Linked DNA regions of Homo sapiens: region 2 is linked to region 1. Evidence: promoter capture Hi-C in 16 types of primary human blood cells and fetal thymus (Javierre and others, 2016). All regions are on one chromosome and are shown on one strand. Each heading gives the region's core, a stretch centred on a gene start or on the middle of the fragment in contact. The rest is flanking DNA. Distances are from core to core; before and after follow the strand shown.

Region 1 (3,220 bases), core at 494-2,993:
AGACACTCCAGCAGCTTCTTGGGGAGAAAGATCTTCAGGTGGTGGCTGTTTTCTAAAGGGAATTAGAAGGGAGGGTTTAGTGTGCTACCCTGGGGCATCCCTGTGATAGTCCAAGGGGAAAGGGCTGAAGGCAATACAGAGCACTGGGGAAAACTGAAACCTCACTAAGGAGAACAGAAAATCCAAGAATTAGAGGGCCACTAAAGCGTGGGGAGAACGAAAGGCTGTGGCCACATTGGGAACCTGGTTTGTGAACTTACCAGCAACCTCGGTGGTGTCCTTGGTATTCATGGTGAGGGCTCCAGGGGGCAAGGTCACCCCCGGCCTGAGGGGCCGGGGGGAGGGGGAGTCTGTGCTGGGAAGGGAGAGAACAAGGTCATGGCAGAAGCCCCCACATTAATCCAGGATGAGAAGTATGAGGTAGGGAGTGGGTATAGAACTGGGTCATAGTATCTGGGAAGGATGAGGAAAGGGAGGGAGGGGCTGACTGTGATGTGACAGTAGAAGAGAGAACAACACACAGTGCCCGGAGCCAATATGAGTGAGCAGACTGGACAGGAAGAGTGAGCAGGAAGAAATGGGTTGGGGTGGGGGAGCGGGGAGAAGACTGGCAGGGCTTGGGCCTCAGAGGCCCTAAACCTTGAGCTTTTGCACAGACTGGGGCTATGGTTGGGTCAGGTCCTGGGGGTTGGGACTCAGGCCATCCGGTCCTTGGAGGATGGTTTGGCAAGAGAGCCTGGATCCTGGGGGCAGGGCAGGAGATTCTACCTCCGGTAGAAGCTAGGCCTTTAGAAGACACGCCCTGAGTTCCTTCTCTGTTTGATTTTTCCAAGGGGAAGGGCAGATCTGATAACTGAACCTAACCTATTCTCTCCTCCAGGTTGGTTAGGACCTGATAGAATCTGGGCCAGACACCCAGATTCCCACCCTCAGGACAACCCACCCTCCGGCTGACAGCCCTCTCTACGTAGCTCCCTCTCCCCAAACGCCTCTGCCTCCCCTGGCCTCCAGGCCTAGCCTACCCCATCTACCGCTCTGGCTCCAGCCTGAGCCCCCCGCCCTCCTCGGGGAACAGATGGGAGCTGGCGGAGGCTCTCAGCACGGGCTCCGCCAGGTGTCCAGGATGGAGATGGGAGGAGGCCCGTCGGGCTCGGCTATGTGCAGTGAAGCTGGGGTTGGGGTAAGGACTCCGCCCCAGGGCGCAGGTGCGCAGTCCTGGCTAGGCAGCCTGCCAGGGTGCGGAGCGGGAGCGGGTCCTTGGGCTGCACTTGGGCGGCGCCGGATCGGACGCTTGGCACTCTGGGCGGCCCCCCGGCGGAGTGGTGGTCCCAGGAGAACCTCCGAGGTGGGAGGGTCCCGCCCGCATAGAGGGATGTTCTGGAGAAGCCGGGAGCAGAGTCCGCGGGCACGCGGTGGGCGAGGGACAGTGCAGGTGCCGGGTGCGGGGGTCTCCGGGACAGTCCCCGGCACGCGCTGGTCCGCCGTGGGGCCCTGCGGTGAGCGGCGCCCCCTGGCGCGGGGGAGGAGGACGGAAGCGGGAGGTGAGGGCGAACCGGGAAGAGGGACGGTGGTCCCTGGCGCGGCGCTCCGCGTCGGGACCTGGAGGAGCTGCGCCCTCTGGCGCGGGGGCGGAGAGGCGGGCGAGAGGCCCTGGCTCTTACCTCCCGGGGTCCCGCGGGTGACGGCGGCAGCGGCCATTCTACCCCACACCGACCCCCCCCAGCGCCGGCTGACAGCGGCGTCTAACGTCACTGCGCACGGGGCGGGGCCTCCCAATTAAGGGGATGAGGGTCAGGAAGGGAACCTGGGGTCAGCACACGTGGAGTTCTGGGTGGGGCGCTGGGCAGAGGGACTCGGCTTCTAGGGCTCTGAGCCAGGCCGAGGGACAGACTGCTGGGAAGTCCCCAAAAGGGCAGCAGCACTGAGGGGCAGGATTCCAGGGTCCTGGAGGCGGAAGCTCGGCCGACTGACTCCCAGTTCGAGAGAACGGGGCGGGGGCAGCCCACCAGTGCTGGAACCCGAGGGGCCGGGCGAGGAACGCTGGACTGGGAGCAGGACCCTTCTCGCCTCGGACAAGACTCCTTGTCTGGGGACCCAGCCCGACTTCATTGTAGCTGGGTCCTCGAGAAAGCGAAAGGAGCCCTCCTTCCCCATTGGCCTCTCCATCGCTGCATCCCAAGAAGAAAGACAACTCGGGCTCCACTTGCTTGCTTTTTAATAACAGAGCAGAGAGAATACAAGGCCAGGAGCGGGGCCTGGAGGAAAACAGGACTTGGGGTGCTCCTGTGAGAGCGGTGGGTTGAGATGGGAGCCCACGGGGGCTGTTAATGCCTAGTTCAGAGGATGGGAAAGGCAGTTGGAGAGACGAAGGAAGGGGAAACGCCTTCATGTCAGCAATGAGGGTGACTCTAGTGACGGAACTAGTCTTGGGTCCCTGGGGCACCACTAGCCTCTCGGCATCGGTGGTTTCTCCTTACTCTTCAGACGCTGCCAACTCCATCCCCCAGGGATTGTGAAGGGGGTTCCTTCTGGCTGTGACAGTGCTGAACGAGGCCAGAGAGTGCAGCTGCCTGGAGGCACAAGCCTCCTCCTGATCCAGGGGGCTCCAGGGAGACCAAAGCAGCTGTCAAGATGAGAGAAATTGAAAAAGAAAATGGAAAAGTAGGTCTTCTTTCCAGATTTCCTAGTACCCAAGCTTAGGTACCTCGAAGTCTCTGGTTCTCACCTACGTTATTTTTGTTTCTCTCAAATCCAGCTCTCCAGCCTGGCTCTCAGCTTCTGCATCTCCATGCAAGACCAGAGACCCACATCACTCCCTCACTCCACCCAGTTCCACTCCAACAATACCTGGGCCCTGCCAGGAGTGAGAAAACGGTCCTCTTCCTGTGGATAGGTTGCTCTCTCCTCTTCCAGATCAGGGTATTCATTGGTGCTGGGGAATCCACAGCCCTCTTCGCCAAGCACCACTGGCTCAGATGCAGCCCCAGAGCTGCCCCACTGGGCCTTCTTCAGTCTGTGGAGACTTTAGGCTGAGGAGAGAAGTGCCTGGAGGCCAGGCTTCCTGTCTCTCCATTCTTCACCTTTCTGTTCTGAAATACTTCCTGCTGGGACTCCAGGGAGTTGTCATTTGACCTTTAACCCTCCACTCCCAATTTTCTGCTCCCCTCAGACTGAAGCATATTGTCTAGGAACCCAGAGGTGACCCCAACCTCCCCACTGT
Region 2 (3,220 bases), core at 350-2,849, 370 kb after region 1:
CAATCCTCCTGCCTCAGCCTCCTGAGTAGCTGAGACTACAGGCGTGTGGTACCATGCCTGGCTAATTTTTAAATTTTTTTGTAGAAAGGAGTTCTCTCTATGTTGCCCAGGCTGGTCTTGTACTCCTGGGCTCAACCTATCCTCCCACCTCAGCCTCCCAAAGTGTTGGATTTACAGGCGTGAGCTACTGCGCCAGGCCTGTAGTCTGATGTTTTCTTTTTTTTTTTTTGAGACGGAGTCTCGCTCTGTTGCCCAGGCTGGAGTGCAGTGGTGTGATCTCGGCTCACTGCAAGCTCCGCCTCCCGGGTTCACGCCATTCTCCTTCCTCAGCCTCCCAAGTAGCTGGGACTACAGGCACCTGCCACCACGCCTGGCTAATTTTTTGTAATTTTTAATAGAGACGGGGTTTCACCATGCTAGCCAGAATGGTCTTGATCTCCTGACCTTGTGATCTGCCCGCCTCGGCCTCCCAAAGTGCTGGGATTACGGGTGTGAGCCACTGCGCCCAGCCAGTCTGATGTTTTTCAAATGGCCCTCACAACTGTTCTATCCCTAGCCCCTTCCCTCTTCAGTATCACAGCAGCACTGTATATGATACATAGCAGTGGGTGTTAGGGTTATTTGTAAACTAACAGAATGGCTTATCCCAGTTTTTATTAGGATACTTACTTGGGATCTTTGCCATAGTAAGCTTAATATATACGAGATTTGTGTTCTTAGCCATTGCAGTTTCAGATGAGTAACAATCTTTAAAAGGAAAGAAATGGAGGCATTAACTCAAAATTTGTCACCTTTTTATTACACCAAGAATATTTTTAAAACATTAAAAAAAATAGGTTACATGAGCTTGCCAGTAACAACAACTGTATTCCACAGTCTCCTCTGGTTCATTTAAAACAGGGCGTTTAACAACAAAACGTAGAAAGGATATTATCTTAAAACATTGTCATTTAAATGGAATAAATTTAGTTGGAAGGAAAACTTGTTACATTTTTCTTTAAATCATTTTTCTTATTTCCCACTAACTATGCAACTGCTTCATGTAATGGCACTGGTTTGCTTTTTGCCTTCAGGAATGTGCTGTACCACGTTGTTTAAAAATTGAGATAAAATTCATGTAACATAAAATTTAAAGTGTACAATTCAGTGGCATTGCATATATACACAAATGTTTTTAGTTTGAAAACATTTTTATCACTCCCAAAGGAGACCTCATAACCCATTAGAGTCACTCGCCATTTTCCCTTTGCCCTAGCCTCTAGTAACCACTAACTTGCTTTATGGCTCTATGGATTTACTTGTTCTGGACATTTTAAATAGATGGAATTACATAATATGTGACTTTTTGCATCTGCTTTCGCATAGTATACAACATTGAACATGTTGATTACACCTTGCTGGAAAATACCACATTCTTGGGCCGGGTGCGGTGGCTCACGCCTGTAATCCCAGCACTTTGGGAGGCTGAGGTCGGGGGATCACGAGGTCAGGAGAGCGAGACCATCCTGGCCAACATGGTGAAACCCCATCTCTACTAAAAATAGAAAACATTAGCCGGGCGAGGTGGCGGGCACCTGTAGTCCCAGCTACTTGGGAGGCTGAGGCAGGAGAATGGCGTGAGCCCGGGAGGCGGAGCTTGCAGTGAGCGGAGATCGCGCCACTGCACTCCAGCCTGGGCGACAGAGCGAGACTCCGTCTCAGAAAAAAAGAAAATACTACGTTCTCGTCATTTCCTTTCCACTACTCTGGCTTCTCCTTTGCTCATCCCCAAGATGTTAATCTTTCTCAGGGTTCTGCCCTTGGCCCTCTTTGCCTACACACTCATCCTACGTGTTCTGATTTGCTGCTGTGACTTTAATTATCATTATACGATAGTTACTCTCAAGTCTCTATCGAAAGACTTCTGTGTCCCTCTGTCAAGGGAATATCTCTGCTTGGATTCATGATAGGCACCTCGCGCTTGACACACGCCACACTGAATTGCAGGTGACGTTCCTCAACTGTTCGTATTTGGGAGCTCTTTGAGCTACCAGAGCATTCAGCACATAGCTCCAGCCCATCCTTTTATCACAGTATTATAACAGTCTGCTTACTTATCTTTTTTTTTTTTGAAGCCGTATGTATCTCGAGGTCAGGGATTATATCTTGCTCACAGTTGTATCCTGAGGGCCTGGTTTTGTGTCCAGCATGTAGAAATGACACTTAGTGTTTGTTCAATGAGTCTGTGAAGGTAGCACATTAATGATTATCATGTGTAATGAGTGGCGGAATACATTTATTATAGTTTTTGTCTTTAAAAACGCAGAGAATTGTCTAACTTGGCCATATGTATTTTCACATTTCAGGAGCATTTAGACAGCACCCGTGGCTCAGTTCATTCCTTAGATGCAGGCTTGCTGTTGCCATCTGGAGATCCTTTCAGTAAATCGGACAATGACATGTTTAAAGATGGACTCAGGAGAGCACAGTCTACAGACAGCTTGGGAACCTCGGGCTCATTGCAATCCAAAGCTTTAGGCTATAACTACAAAGCAAAATCTGCTGGAAACCTGGACGAGTCAGATTTTGGACCACTGGTAGGAGCAGATTCAGTGTCTGAGAACTTTGATACTGCATCCCTTGGGTCACTCCAGATGCCAAGTGGGTTTATGTTAACCAAAGATCAGGAAAGAGCAATCAAGGCGATGACACCAGAACAAGAAGAGACAGCGTCCCTCCTCTCCAGCGTTACCCAGGGCATGGAGAGTGCCTATGTGTCCCCTAGTGGTTATCGTTTAGTTAGTGAAACAGAATGGAATCTCTTGCAGAAAGAGGTGAGTTACCTTTCTCACGTTTTTCCTCTTGCTCACGCTGAGGCACACTGGGAAGCTCTGGGATTTAGCGTTCATTCAACAGACGGTTCCTGGAGTCAGTGCAGGCACATGTTGCCAGCAAGTGGATATTAACGTGTGTCACCTGACCCTTGTCATAGTCTGCCTTGGGTATTCCAGGTAATTGTGACAGAGAAAGGAGCTAGCTAGTTAATCACAGTGAATGTGAACCTCCCCACCTGAACTCACAGCTCTCAGGTTGGAGCAATCTGCCTGACTAGCATTGCGGAATTTAAGTTAGAGCAACCTGGATTTGGTTTGCTTTGCAGTTTTCTATAATCTCAGTGTATTGCAGGATCCAGGCTTTCATCTTTCCTTTAGATCAAAAGCGCAATTGCCGGTCTGCTGTT

Evidence for each region. Contacts are between HindIII fragments. The CHiCAGO score rates a contact against its expected background, and 5 or more counts as called.
Region 2: a fragment that was not itself captured here is called in contact with the fragment with the promoter of CAMTA2 in region 1 in 1 of 17 cell types (total B cells); the score reaches 5.0 in total B cells.

Annotation. Positions count from the first base shown.
Region 1 is chr17:4,985,932-4,989,151 of GRCh38, forward strand. CAMTA2 (calmodulin binding transcription activator 2) reads right to left here and starts at 1,744. Exons shown (of 23, transcript NM_015099.4): 1 at 1,662-1,744; 2 at 261-355; 3 at 1-52. The coding sequence starts at 291. It overlaps INCA1 (inhibitor of CDK, cyclin A1 interacting protein 1), which reads right to left. Exons shown (of 7, transcript NM_001394789.1): 6 at 2,848-3,013; 7 at 2,199-2,623. The coding sequence ends at 2,474. It overlaps CAMTA2-AS1 (CAMTA2 antisense RNA 1), which reads left to right and starts at 1,813. Exons shown (of 3, transcript NR_187235.1): 1 at 1,813-2,294; 2 at 2,485-2,661; 3 at 2,756-3,220. RefSeq lists a silencer at 1,224-1,763. The HindIII fragment of the contact is 15,391 bases long and covers 1-2,693 here.
Region 2 is chr17:5,358,863-5,362,082 of GRCh38, forward strand. RABEP1 (rabaptin, RAB GTPase binding effector protein 1) reads left to right here. Exons shown (of 18, transcript NM_004703.6): 9 at 2,346-2,813. It overlaps LOC105371505 (a long non-coding RNA gene), which reads right to left. Exons shown (of 2, transcript XR_934178.3): 1 at 2,823-3,220; 2 at 1,745-2,222. Among named protein-coding and RNA genes, the nearest start is that of NUP88, 59 kb to the right of the region's middle. RefSeq lists an enhancer at 3,020-3,220. The HindIII fragment of the contact is 1,820 bases long and covers 690-2,509 here.